Linked DNA regions of Homo sapiens: all the other regions are linked to region 2. The links are contacts of gene promoters, found by promoter capture Hi-C in blood cells and fetal thymus (Javierre and others, 2016). All regions are on one chromosome and are shown on one strand. The core of a region is centred on a gene start or on the middle of the fragment in contact, and the rest is flanking DNA. Distances in the headings are between cores, read along the strand shown.

The links. Contacts are between HindIII fragments. The CHiCAGO score rates a contact against its expected background, and 5 or more counts as called.
Region 1: a contact is called between a fragment that was not itself captured here and the fragment with the promoter of OSGIN1 in region 2, in 2 of 17 cell types (naive B cells and erythroblasts). The highest score is 5.4, in naive B cells.
Region 3: a fragment that was not itself captured here is called in contact with the fragment with the promoter of OSGIN1 in region 2 in 1 of 17 cell types (total B cells); the score reaches 5.0 in total B cells.
Region 4: a fragment that was not itself captured here is called in contact with the fragment with the promoter of OSGIN1 in region 2 in 3 of 17 cell types (naive CD8 T cells, megakaryocytes and erythroblasts); the score reaches 7.9 in naive CD8 T cells.

Annotation. Positions count from the first base shown.
Region 1 is chr16:84,516,038-84,519,399 of GRCh38, forward strand. LOC124903735 (a long non-coding RNA gene) reads left to right here. Exons shown (of 2, transcript XR_007065148.1): 2 at 2,130-2,293. Among named protein-coding and RNA genes, the nearest start is that of MEAK7, 13 kb to the left of the region's middle. The HindIII fragment of the contact is 160 bases long and covers 1,558-1,717 here.
Region 2 is chr16:83,951,946-83,955,120 of GRCh38, forward strand. OSGIN1 (oxidative stress induced growth inhibitor 1) reads left to right here and starts at 1,295. Exons shown (of 6, transcript NM_182981.3): 1 at 1,295-1,425. RefSeq lists a silencer at 1,570-1,619 and an enhancer at 2,108-2,877. The HindIII fragment of the contact is 5,629 bases long and covers 1-2,741 here.
Region 3 is chr16:84,732,399-84,736,043 of GRCh38, forward strand. USP10 (ubiquitin specific peptidase 10) reads left to right here. Exons shown (of 14, transcript NM_005153.3): 2 at 1,037-1,105. Among named protein-coding and RNA genes, the nearest start is that of USP10, 34 kb to the left of the region's middle. RefSeq lists an enhancer at 3,033-3,645. The HindIII fragment of the contact is 1,351 bases long and covers 805-2,155 here.
Region 4 is chr16:84,463,516-84,466,884 of GRCh38, forward strand. ATP2C2 (ATPase secretory pathway Ca2+ transporting 2) reads left to right here. Exons shown (of 27, transcript NM_014861.4): 27 at 99-672. The coding sequence ends at 217. The region is part of intron 1 of ATP2C2-AS1 (ATP2C2 antisense RNA 1); the gene reads right to left. Among named protein-coding and RNA genes, the nearest start is that of ATP2C2-AS1, 2.2 kb to the right of the region's middle. The HindIII fragment of the contact is 1,340 bases long and covers 1,145-2,484 here.

The DNA of each region.
Region 1 (3,362 bases), core at 388-2,887, 560 kb after region 2:
TGGGCATCTGTGGTCCCAGCTACTCTGGAGGCTGAGGCAGGAGAATCGCTTGAGCCCAAGAGGTTGAGGTTGCAGTGAGCCGAGACTGCACCACTGCACTCTAGCCTGGGCAACAGAGTAAGACTCCATCTCAAAAAAATAAACTACTATTTAGAAATAATTATAGATTCAACAGAAAGTTGCAAAGACAGTGCACAGAGGTCCAATATACCCTGCACCAAGTTTCCCTGTGGTTCTAACTCACCTAATCCAAACTGGGAAAGAGACATTGATGCAATCAATGTGTGTGTCCAATTCTGTCATTTCCCCACGAGGGTAGTAGAGTCGTGTGACCATCACTACAAAACACAACTATTCCATCTATGCTGAAGATACAGAAGTGTTCCATCACCACGATGATCTCTTCCATGTTGCCCCAAAATAATTGTGAAATAGAAATTCCATGTAGAAATAGTATTTTGGCTATATTAGGTTCAAAGCATATTAATGTTACCATTTCTCGTTTTAAAACATGAACAATGAAAACCTTAGAATCGCACACAGGGCTTGTGTTCTACCTCCATTGTCTGTATTTGGATGTTGGACAGCACCGGCTCCGAAGTTCAGACCACAGCTCGGTTGCTTTGGATGGGTTAATTAACCTCCCTGAGCTAGGCTCCGTGGGAGTAGACCAGACCTGTAAGAGTCACTGTTCGGCACACTTGAGTGCCTATGTGCTGGGCATCACGTAAAGGCAGGGGACACAGGAGGCAGCGAGAGAGACCATGTCCTCCAGAGGGAGAGGAGATGCCCTGTAAAGGCTCACACACGGGCTAGTAGTGAGAAGGGTCAGTCCACAAGCACCGCCAGGTAGAGTTGGGACCCAGAAGGGGTTAAATAAAAACAGCAAGGGAGAGGACTTAAGAACATGGCACAGACTCCCCCACACACAGTAAGGAAAAGAAACGCATGCACTGTCAGCAAATAAACAGCAGAAACAAAGAATTTTTTTTTTTTTTTTTTTTGAGATGGAGTCTTACTCTGTCGCCCAGGCTGGAGTGCAATGGCGCGATCTCGGCTCACTGCAACCTCCACCTCCCAGGTTCAAGCAATTCTCCTGCCTCAGCCTCCCAAGTAGCTGGGATGACCAGGGTCCACCACCGCACCCACCTAATTTTTGTATTTTTAGTAGAGATGGGGTTTCATCATGTTGGCCAGGCTGGTCTCGAACTCCTGACCTCAGGTGATCTGCCCACCTCGGCCTCCCAAAGTGCTGGGATTACAGGCATGAGCCACGGCACCCAGCCAGAATGTTGCTTAGAAACCCAAATTGTCCCTGTTGCCCCAGAGCAGGTAAACCATACTGGGGGACCCCAGAATCCCAGCTCTTCCCGGGTGCCTCCCAGTACCCAGAAGGCAACAGGAAGAAGCGACTGCGGTTGAAAATAATAAAAATACTGCTACATGCAGGCCCTGTTCCCCTAGAGAACTCGACCGCCAGCTGGGAACTGATACCAGGCCCCACGAGACCCATCCCCCAGGGCCCGTCCCAGAGATACTCAGCCCCAGGCGCTGGAAAGCTTTTCCAAAGAGATTATGAAAAACGTCTAATATGCGGAAAACCAGACTAAAAAAACAAGCCCTCTTTATACCCACCACCCAGACTCAGCCATTGCTAACATTCTGCCCTTTCCTACTGTTCGTTGGAATGTTCGAAGTGGGTCAATTCTGACATTTAAGCTTTCAACATATTTGACGCATTTTTTAAAAAATGATGCCGTTGTACTAACCACAGAACTGTCAATGCATCTAACAACATTAACAATCATTTTGTCATAGAACCTGAGCGTCAATTGCTGGACTCTGGTTGGTAATGCAGAGTCTCCCGGCTTTACCCCAGACCTCCTGAATCAGAATCCGCACCTTCACAAGGTCTGAGTACTTCATGTACTCATGATGGTTGGAGGAACAAACTATTTTTTTGGAGACAGGGTCTCGCTGTCATTGAGGCTGGAGTGCAGTGGTGCAATCATAGCTCACTGCAGCCTCCACTTCCTGGGCTCAAGTGATCCTCCCGCGTCAGCCTCTCGAGTAGCTGGGACTACAGGCACATGCCACTACACCTGGCTGATTTTTATTTTATTTTCCAGGGTCTTGCCAAGTTGCCCAGGCTGGTCTGGAACTCCTGGACTCAAGTGATCCACCCACCTCAGCCTCCCAAAGTGCTGGGATTATAGGTGTGAGCTGCTCCGCCCAGCCCAGAAGCAAACCTTATATTCAGTCTCATTGGATTAAATTCTATCCCTCCACAAAATTCATGTGTTAAAGTCTTTCTCCCAGTGCCCCAGGATATGACTATGTGACTTATTTGAAAATAGAGTCATTGCAGATGGAATTAGTTAAGATGAGGTCACAGCAGGGTACTGGGCCTATGATCTAGTGTGACTGGTATTTTTTTTTTTTTTTTTTGAGGTGGAGTCTCACTCTGTTGCCCAGGCTGGAGTGCAGTGGTGAGATCTCGGTTCACTGCAGCCTCTGCCTCCCAGATTCAAGCGATTCTCCTGCCTTAGCCTCCTGAGTAGCTGGGATTACAGGCATACACCACCACGCCTGGCTAATTTTTTTTTTTTTTTTTTTGTATATTTTTAATAGAGCTGGGGTTTTGCCATGTTGGCCAGGCTGGTCTTGAACTCCTGACCTCAGGTGATCCACCCGCCCTGGCCTCCTAAAGTGCTAGGATTATAGGCAGGAGCCACCATGCATGGCCTTTTTTTCTTTTTCATTGGACAGAGACAGCCATGCACGGAGGGAAGGTATTGTGAAGAGTCACACAGGAAGACAGCGTCCACAGGCCTCGAGATGCACCAGCCCTGCTGACACCTTGACTTTGGGTTTGTGGCATCCAGAGCTGTGAGGAAGTCGATTTCTGGTGATTTTAACCCCCTGCCCGCAGTTTGTGGTACAGCAGACCTAGGAAATGAATCCACAGTCCCTATCCAAAGTTCACCTGTGGTTTTCTTAAAAATACCCATGGCGGAGCCCACACTAACGATTCCGATGTCCCAGGTCTGGGCGGGGCTCAGGTGTGGGTGCTTTTAAAACTGAGACTACACTGCAGGCAAGGCCAGCGTGGAGTCACGAAGCTGCTCTCCTGGTTAACCAGGAAACAGCAGCCAGGTGGTGTAGGGCGCCTGAGGACAGTCACTGAAGTGTACCTGAGAAGGTGGGGATGACCCTGGATGGCAGATGCACGCGGATGCATGTTCCGAGCTAGGGAATCTGGGTTGGCCAACCCCGAGATCCGTTCCTTGTCTATGAGACACATCTGAGCCTCAGTTCCCTCTCCCCCACCCCAACCCCAGCCTGGCCCGTGGAACACGAGC
Region 2 (3,175 bases), core at 45-2,544:
GCCTTCCTCCCTCCTTCCCCCCCTGCTTCCCTCCCTACCTCCTTCCTTCCCTCCCTCCTTCCCTCCCTGCTTTCCTCCCTCCTTCCCTCCCTACTTCCCTCCCTCCCTGCCTTCCTCCCTCCTTCCCCCCCTGCTTCCCTCCCTCCCTGCCTCCCTTCTGTTTAACCGATGTTGAGTGCCTATGTGTCCTAAGCGCTGTTCTAGACACTGTGTAGAGCAGTCACGAATATACTTCCCTGCCCACACAGAGCTCACATTCTGGTTTGGGAAGAGAGACAATAAAATAATTCAGAAATAGGCCAGGTGTGGCATCTCACGCCTGTAATCCCAGCACTTTGGAAGGCTGAGGCGGGCGGATCATCTGAGGTCGGGAGTTCGAGACCAGCCTTGCCAACATGGTGAAACCCTATCTCTACCAAAAATACAAAATTAGCCGGGCGTGGTGGCACATGCCTGTAATCTCAGCTACTCAGGAGGCTGAGGCAGGGGAATCACTTGAGCCCGGGAGGCGTAGGTTGCAGTGAACCGAGATCGCGCCATTGCACCCCAGCCTGGGAAACAAGAGCGAAACTCCTTCTCAAAATAATAATAATTAAGAAACAGCAAGGTGTGGGGTGTGCAGTGCTACCCACATAAAACAGGAGAGAAGAGCCTGGGAGCAGGCTTCAAGTTCTAAGCATGGCAGACAAGAAGGATGTCATGTAAACCCTCACGGCCACTCTGGTAGAGACAATCTGTGACTTGGCCCCAGTTTTCAGATGAGGAAACTGAGGTGCGGGCCCTAAGGCAGCTTGCCAGAGCCCTGCAGCTGGGAAATGGCAAAGCTGGATTCGCAGCCCAGGCAGGCTGGTGCCAGAGGGCTTTTGGGGATTGGAGGGTGCAGTGAAATCCAGGTGGAATGCGGGAACTGGACGGGGTTTCGCCACTTAAAGGTACTGTTATTTTAACTGTGTGCGGGACAAAGCCATCTCCTCTTCGCTTATGGCAAAGGCCAGGCTGGCTCATTCAGAGGTCACTGGTTCCTCCTCCAGAGACTGAGCCCCAGGGATGGGGGTCTGGCTAGGGGGAGGTGGCTGGGAGGGAGCGCCACCCTAGGCCCCCTGGCAGGCCGCCCAGCAGGGGCCCTTTAAGGCTGGCCATGAGGCAGGCAGCGTGACACCCGCCCAGTGTGCAAGTTCATTCATCACGGGCCCCTGCTGACTCACGCTTATGAAAGTGATTTTCCTGGCCCCGCCCACTGCCTGCGCCGCCTCCTCCCTCCCCGTGAAATACCCTCACTTCCCTCTGGCCTCTCAGAGCCTCTTGGATCCCCACAGGGTAATGGGTGTCCCGATCTCGCGGGGGACTCTGTGATCCGTGTTCCCCTGACCCTCCTAGTGCACAACTTGGCCGGGCTCACTGGGCTCCTGCACCACTGCCTGTCAGGTGAGTGTCCGGGGCCAGGTTCCGGGGCAGGGAATCAGGCACATCCCAGGCACCCGTGGCAAGCCCAGCTGGACCGGAGGGTCTGCAGAGCCCTGGCGCCAGGCGGGGGTCCCGGGTGGTCCTGAGTGGAGGCCCTCGCCTGGGTTCTCTGGAGCCCGGCAGGATTCTCCCCTACACCAGGTTCCTCCCAGATCCTCAGCTGTGTCCCTGTCCAGGTGCCTGGTACCCTCAGCCAAGCAGCTGAAGCGGCCACAGTCCCAGCGTACCCTGGGCCATGTGACCGCCGCTCCTAGCAGGAAAGAGGGGTGTGGCCAGCCCGGGCTTACTGCCCAGCTGTTCCAAGGCCACTGGGTCGGCAGCCAGGCTGGGTGCCTTCTGGGTTTCTGCTTCTCCTGCTCAGGAGGGACAGAGCCCTTGGGTGCCCATGAACAGCCCCCATCCCTGGAGGTCCCAGCGACTTAGCTTCTCTCAGGAGGCTCAAGAGTGCGGCGGGTTGGGAGGGCGGCCCCTGGGAGGCTGGGGAGCTGCAGGAGACCCTGGGCTCCAGGTGTGCGGCACTGGGGCGAGGGCTCGTCTGTGATAAATGGCAAGTGCCGCTTGCGTGGACAGACCACCCCCTCACACTTTAGCGCCCCCAGGGCTTCGTGTCACTTTCTTGGTCTCCCTGTAATCAGCTGTTTTACTGGAGGGGACTTGGCAGAACTAAGATTTGTCACATGGCCGTGGTCTTGGACCCTCCTAGGTGACCTGGGGCAAGACGCCCACTCCTCCTGACCAGCTTTTCTTCCTCTGCACAATGGGGATAAGAACACCCACCTCCTGGGGTGTCTTCAAAGGCAAAGGAGTAAATGGCCACTAGAGGTGCCAAAGAAACGCAGACATACAGGTGTCCCAGAGTCTCAGAGCAGTTTGCAGCTTTAACAACCTCAGAAGTACAAATGCCGCACACTTGAAAGAAACGTCAGTCGAAGGTGCAACTGTTTTCATTTCTTTTATCCTGTTTGCCTTTGTGAAATTTGAAACATCAATTTTTAATGTTAACTTCTTTCCATCAACATCTGCCATCTTCAATTAAAGGGACTTAAAAAGATAACATTAAAAATTGATTCTTCCAACTCCGTAAAACTAAAAAGCACAAAAGGAATTGAAATGAAACTTTTGAACTCTCTTTTGTAAGTTGGCAGCATATTTGTCCGAGGTTATGAGTGACAGCGTCAAGCTGCTTCGGACTTTGGGGCGTCCTGTGTCACTCTGAACGGGAAGTGACTTCTCAGGTCCAGCCCCTGGGTGGTGACCTCATGTATGTGGCATCCAGAAGCTTCTGTTCAAGAGCCTGAGGACAGTCCCAGGAGGGAGCCCTGGACTTGGAGCCCCAAAGCCCTGGTGGTAAACCAGTGTCCTCTGCTGCCTGCAAAGGGTGGGAAGGGGCAGCCAGTTCTGATTCCTCATTGGCCAGCAGGGGCTCCTGCAAATGCCCTTCTTGGGGTGGTGGGAAAATCTGAAAGAACAAAGGAGGGGCAGGGCATGGCCCAGGGTGGGCGCACTGGGGCAGATGGAGCAGGTTGGCTCACTCGTTTGGTGAAGGGGCTGGGGTGCCTGGGGGTGTCAGCCCACGGGGATCAAATATCAGTTCCATCGCCCACCGGCTCTGTAGCCTCAGGGCACGGCTTCACCTCTCCTAGCCTTAGTCTCCTCATCTGCAAAGTGGGTTGCTAGGAGGATCAAAGGAGGTGATGCGGGGAAGCCCTTT
Region 3 (3,645 bases), core at 230-2,729, 780 kb after region 2:
TCCGTTGTGGAAATTGCTAATTCTTCTCAATGACTTCTTCTTCTTCTTTTTTTTTTTTTTCTTTTTGAGATGGAGTCTGGCTCTGTCGCCCCGGCTGGGGTGCGGTGGCGCGATCTCAGCTCACTGCAACCTCGGCCTCCCTGGTTCAAGCAATTCTCCTGGCTCAGCCTCCCGAGCAGCCGGGACTACAGGTACACGCCACCACGCCTGGCTAATTTTTGTATTTTTAGTAAAGATGGGGGTTTCACCATGTTGGCCAGGCTGGTCTCGAATTCCTGACCTTAAGTGATTCGCCCATGTCAGCCTCCCAGAGTGCTGGGATTATAGGCGTGAGCTACTGCGCCAGGCCTCAATGACTTGTTTCTTGAAGCTCCATGGAGAATATGAACTGGTAGGCACTTGCCAGACTCACATCCGTGCAGTTTAACCACTTCGTTTTCCAGAAAATCACATTCTGAATTCCGTGAAATCAGGCTTGCAACAAGGGCTGTGTCTGTCTGATAATATGTGTATCTGTGTATCCTATGGAAATGCATTTTTAAACTAAGAAGTTATATAGATATTTTTAAAGATCATTAATCAGGATCATTAACATTTTCCTTTTTTGGATTTCCTTGTCTTCCCATTTGAACCACGTTTTCTGCTTTTCTTTAGTATGTTTGGCAGAGAAAGCGGAAATGGAGGTAGTGGCATGAGTCAGCAGAAAGGTAAATGGAACAACTGGCAGTATTTGTGAACCAATAAAAATCTCCTGCAAGCAGGACTCGACAAGTTTGGCATACAAAATTGATTTGTTTCAAAATAAGCTTTATCAGTTTCATAGTGTTCTTTGACAATTTGTAGGAAAGGTTCAGTAGTATTTCTTTTATATAAACAACCTAGAACTCTGAGTTGCAGATCCTCTGTTTAATTGAGAAAGGATCTTGGGGGTTATGGCCCAAATGTTGCATAGGATTGTTAAAATATGTAGCATTTTTTCTGAAAGTATATAATTTGTATATTTTATGTGATCAGTGACTCTCTTATTTTTTTTCAGTATATTTTTGGAGATTTTAGCCCTGATGAATTCAATCAATTCTTTGTGACTCCTCGATCTTCAGTTGAGGTAAGACAAAACTTTGTTTTAGTGAGTCCGTGGGTAGATACAATTAATAGTTATGTTTCTATTTTAATTTGTTTTTTTAAATAAAGAATTCCAATGTAGAGAAAAGTATGGAGACTAATATGAGAAATGCCTCAACCCACCAACTAGATTTGACTGACATTTGATTTGACATTTTGCTGTATTTACTTTATTAGGCTTTGAAAAGCAAATAAAACATTACAGATGCAACTGAAGCCTCCTTTGGACCTCTCTCCCATCTCTCCCCAGAAGTAACTACTCTGCTGAAATTGGGAAATATTGGTCCTGACTGGTTTTCACCTTTTATCATATACGTGTATATCACCATAGTCAATCGTAGTGTTTTATGTGCTTTAAAGTGTCACGTAAATGGTATACTATATTCAGTTTGTCGTTTATTTTAAGCTAACGTTGTATTCTTTATGCTAAGAAATTTGTCCTTGTTCTTTGATTTCCAGTGCTCAGTACCACTGATTGAACACACTGCAATTTACTTACATATTTTCCTGTCGAGGGCCATTTAGGTCTCTAGTTCAGCCGTTAAAAATATTGCACTCAATGTATTTTATCATGTCTCCTGGTGCCCCTCTGTGGGCTCCTCCGGGACACAGACCTGGGAATGGAATTACTGGGTTCTGTGGACCGAGCCTCTTTAGTTTCACTAGAGACTGCTCGTTTGCTATCTAGGATTTTAACAGTCTTCATTCCCATCAGCAGTGCATGGGAGTTTTCTTGCTCGTATTAAAAAAAAAATCTTGCTAACTCTTGGTGTTGGCATATTTAAAATTTTGTGAATCTGATGTGTGTAGTAAATGGACTCTCATTGTTTTAATTTACATCTCCCAGATTACAAACAGCTGGGTACTATTTCATTCTCTTCACGTCTGCTGGCAATACGGATGTCCTCTGCTGTGAATTACTTGGTTTATATCCCTTGTCCATATTTTTAAATCAAGTAGCTTGTCTTTTTCTTACTGATTTTAGGATTAATCTTTGGTTTTACAGGCATCTGTTCCTAGCATGAGGGCTTTAAGCTTCACATGTTAGGTGAACCCTTTTTGGGGTTGGGTTTTTTTGTTGTTGTTGTTGGATAAGAGGAGTACACTTTCAACTTTAATGTCAACTGAATTGATTTTTTTTTCCTTATAGTTTGTGGATTTTTAGTTTTAAAAATATCTTTAGGAAATTCTTCCCATCCTTTAGATAACGAAGATATTTGTCTGTTTTCTTCTAAAAGTTTTCAGATTTTGTTTTCACGCTTCAGTGTGTAATAAGCTGAAATTGAGGCACTGAATTTTGTATATGTGTGAGGTGGCATCGAACTCCCTGCCCCTGTGGCCCTGGCAGGTGCCTCCTCACCATTCATTGGGAACTCGGCCCTTAGCTGTCCTGTCAGCCCCGTTGGGCAGTGCATCTCCCCTGGTTCCGAGTGTGCTATTCTGTGGGCCTATTGCTTATCTCTGTATAAACACCACACGTTTTATTTTATTTTTTTATTTCTATTTTTTCTTTTCTTTTCTTTTTTTCGAGACAGGGTCTCACTCTGCCCAGGCTGGAGTGCAGAGTGCAATCACAATTCACTGCAACTTTGACCCCCCGCCCCGCCTCAGGGGGGTTCTCATGCTTCAGCCCCTGAATAGCTGGGATTACAGGTGTGTGCTGCCAGGCCCGGGTGGTGTGTGTGTGTGTGTGTGTGTGTGTGTGTGTGTGTGTGTGGTGTGTGTGTTTTTAAGTAAGGGGATTTTGTATTTTTTCCCACATCACACTGATGTAACCATACGTTTTAGTTGCTACAGGTTTTCTCAAGTGTGTACACATGTGGATGGGTGGGTACCTGTTTGCAAGTGAGTAGACAAAAACTTGAGTTTTCATGTGATAGGAAAGTGAAAAGTGCACCGTATTTCAAGTCTGAAGGCCTGGGGTCGCTTCAGTTCTGCCACTTCCACAGGCTCGGAGGGTTTGGGCACGTTCTTTCCTTTTGGGCCTCCCATTTCTTTTCTCTTTCTTTTGTTTTTTAAATTGAAAAAATGCAGAATGCTTATTCACGTCACAGAAATGTTGGGAAATCAGCTAATGTATGGTCCGATAACTAGTGAGTAACAGATGTTAGTAGAAATGGATGAAAAGGGTACAGATGGTAAGTTATGCCAAACCTTTTATTCACAGAAGACGTGACTGTGTCTCATGAAAATGAGCTCAAGCTTCAGAACTCGTAGTGTGTGTGGGCTTATTTGGGCTTTTCTGTTTTTCTTATTTTTTAACATACGGTGAAGTTTGGAGGGGTATAAAAAGAGTTTATCAAAATCACAGTAACCTGCAAAAGGGAAATGCAGGCTAATTAACATAATCGGATGGAGTTGTTTTCCCCAATCTTCAGGAATCTGAATTATAATAGCACATGATTACACAGGAACTCACTTTCATGGGGCGGCATGTGGTTGGGCCTGTGGGTGTGTGAGTGGCGAGGGCGTGTCACTTGGACCTGTGGGTGTGTGAGTGGCGAGGGCGTGTCACTTGGACCT
Region 4 (3,369 bases), core at 565-3,064, 510 kb after region 2:
CTCTCACTTTATCAGGAGGACTGGCAGGGAAGGCGCTTCCTGCCGGCGCAACAGAGCTGCAGCCCGTCCTGAATCTTTTCTGTTTTCTCCCTTGGCAGATTTGCTGTTTTTAACTGGATTGGCCTCATCCGTCTTCATTTTGTCAGAGCTCCTCAAACTATGTGAAAAATACTGTTGCAGCCCCAAGAGAGTCCAGATGCACCCTGAAGATGTGTAGTGGACCGCACTCCGCGGCACCTTCCCTAATCATCTCGATCTGGTTGTGACTGTGGCCCCTGCCGTGTCTCCTCGTCAGGGGAGACTTTTAGGAGGCCGCAGCCTTCCATCACCGGATCAGTTTTTCCTCTTAGGAAAGCTGCAGGAACCTCGTGGGCTCCAGGGACCCAGGCCCACATCCATCCAGCGTTCCCGCTGGCTGTGGGACAGACAGGGAGGGGCCTGTACAGAAACACCACACTGTTTATTAAATCACAATGATTTTTATTAACCATGTCTAACTACGTATCTGTGCCACAGCTTGCAGTGAGGCAGGCCACTCGTGGCAGATACAAGGGGCTCCTGAGAGGCAGTGGGTAGGATGGTCACACTCTGCCCATTGCCCTCCTGGAGGCCCCATTTCCTCATCATAAAATGAGGGACTTTTAAATAAAGTGCTATGCCGGGGGATAATTATTTTGATGTGTTTACCTAGGGTTTTTCATACAAGGGGCCAGGTTGGAAACCCACAGCCATGTGTTAATGGCCACGTGGGGTGAGCAGCAATCCATCATGAATGGCCTACAGGAAGGCCTCGGCTTTTGGACATAAAGAGTAGGGCTGGGCATGGTGGCTCACGCCTGTAATCCCAGCACTTTGCAAGGCCAAGGCAGGCAGATCACTTGAGGCCAGCCTGGCCAACACAGCAAAACCCTGTCTGTCTCTACTAAAAGTTTAAAAAAAAAAAAAAAAACAGTTGCCAGGCGTGATGATGCACACCTGTTAATCCCAGCTACTCGGGAGGCTGAGGCAGGAGAATGGCTTGAGTCCAGGAGGTGGAGATTGTACCACTGCACTGCAGCATGGGCAACAAAGCAAGAGTCTCTCTCAGAAAGTGGCCCTTCTCTCCGGAACCAGGAACTGTAGTATCTCCTGCTGCCTGCAGACAAGCTTGATTTCCCACTGCCCCAAAGACTTCCAAAAACCGATCTGCTCTTCCACGTGACAGATGGCAGAGGAGAGAGGTCTCCATGCTGTTCTTCTGCCTGAAGCCACGCCAGAACCACCAAAGGGAACCAGAAGGGGAACTCCGTCCCCATCTCTCAGGAAATAAGGCCAGAGCTAGAACCCCCCATTTACTAGTCAGGCCTCACTAGAGAAACAGAACCAACAGGATGGAGGGAGATGCAGAGATTTGTTTTAAGGAACTGGCTCATAGGATGTTGGGGGCTGGCAAGTCTAACATCTTGAGGGCAGGCCAGCATCCTGGAGACCCAGGGAAGAGCTGGGGATGCAGGCTGGAGGCAGAATTTCCTCCTCCTCAAGGGAGTTCAGCCTTTTCCTCTTATAGTCCTCAACTGATCGGATGAGGCCCACTCACGTTATGAAGGATAAACTGTTTGTTTTACTTCAAGTCTACGGGCTTACATGTTAGTTACACAGCGCCATCTAGACCAGTGTTTGTTTGACGAAAATCAACTTGGCCTGGCCAAGTTGTCAGATAAAAGTACCCGTTGCACCCAGCCACGGTAGCTATGAAAAGGGCTACCAGGGGTGGTAACAGCTGGGTCAGACGAAGATAAGGAAGGTCAGAGTGGACCCCTGCCAGGGTTCCAGGCAGAGTCCAAAGTCCTCCATAGTAGGATTCACAGCCTGGGAAGAAGCCCCTCTCTGGCTACAACCTGTGACACCAGGGCCACAGGAGGAGATGCAGCGATGGGCCATTCCTAGTGAGACACAGACACAGGGCTGGCTGGAGAAGAAACCTTTTGAGCTGTGGGGCTGTCTTCCTAGAAGCTGCCAACCCCTGGAACCACTAAGAGGTCAAGGCTGAAGTGTGCCACTTCCACAGTCTGCTAAGGAGTGCCTCCCCCTGAGTCAGGGACAATTCTTGCTCTACTTTTCAGGATCCTTGGGCACACTGCTGGCCCGAGACATTTACTTCCCATTTAAAATTAAGTAATCAAAATACCAGGGTCGATTACTCTGAACTCTTGCTTATGTAAACTTTAGGGATAAAACTGTAGTAAGACACAAAATGCTAACAATAAAATATAAATTAGACTACATTAAAACTAAGACCTTCTTTTCATTAAGGACACAGTAGACTTGAACACCACCATTAAGCAACTTAGCTTGATTTACACTTGTAGAACACCCCATTCACGAGTAGCATAGAAACAGTCACCAAAATAAAGAGCAGAAATCAAACGAAAAAGCAAAAATAGAGGAAAATCAATCAAAACCTAGTTTTTCGAAGAGATCAATAAAACTATCAGTCTTGCAATAAGCTTATCAAAGAAAAAAGGGAAGAGAAATGACCAATGTCAGGAATGAAAAAGTATATCACCACAAACCCTTCAAGATATTCCAACAATAATAATAAATAATACTATGTACATCTTTATGTACCTAAATTCAATCAATTGGATGAAATAAACCAATTGCTTGAAAACCAAAAACTACCAAAACTCACTGAAGATTAAATAGATAAGCTGAAGTTGAAACCCTTCCAAAAAAGGCAGTTTCTGAAGCCAGATGATTTCACTGGTGAATTTTACTAAACTTGTAAAGAAATGGCAATTCGATACACTGAATTCCAAAAATAAAAGGGGACCGAGCACTTCTCATTTTATAAGGTCAACAATCACTCTGATACCAAAACTAGAGAAAAATACTAGAGACCAACATCCCTTATGAATATATGCACGAAAATCCTCAACAAAATATGAGGAAATCAGATCTAGCCAGGTACGAAGAATATAAGACACCAGGACGAAGTGGGGTTAATTGAGGAATGGAATTCAAGCATTCCAAAGTTCAACATTCAAAACCAATATAACTGAAAAGTTCAACATTCAAAAACCAATATAACTCACTATATTAATAGTCTGAAGAAGGAAAAACACATGGTTATATCAATTAATGCAGAAAAGGCATTTGATAAAATTCAATCTCCATTTGTAATAAAAACTCTCAAACTAGGAATTGAAGGAAACTTCTTCAACCTGATAAAGAACATCTACAAAAAACCTATAGCTAACATCATACTTAATGATGAAAAACTGAATTCTTTCCCCACAGGATAAGGTCCAAGGGTGACCAGCCTCACCACTCCTATTCAGCACAGTATTAGAAGTCCTAGCCAGTGTAATATGGCAAGAAAAGTTAAAA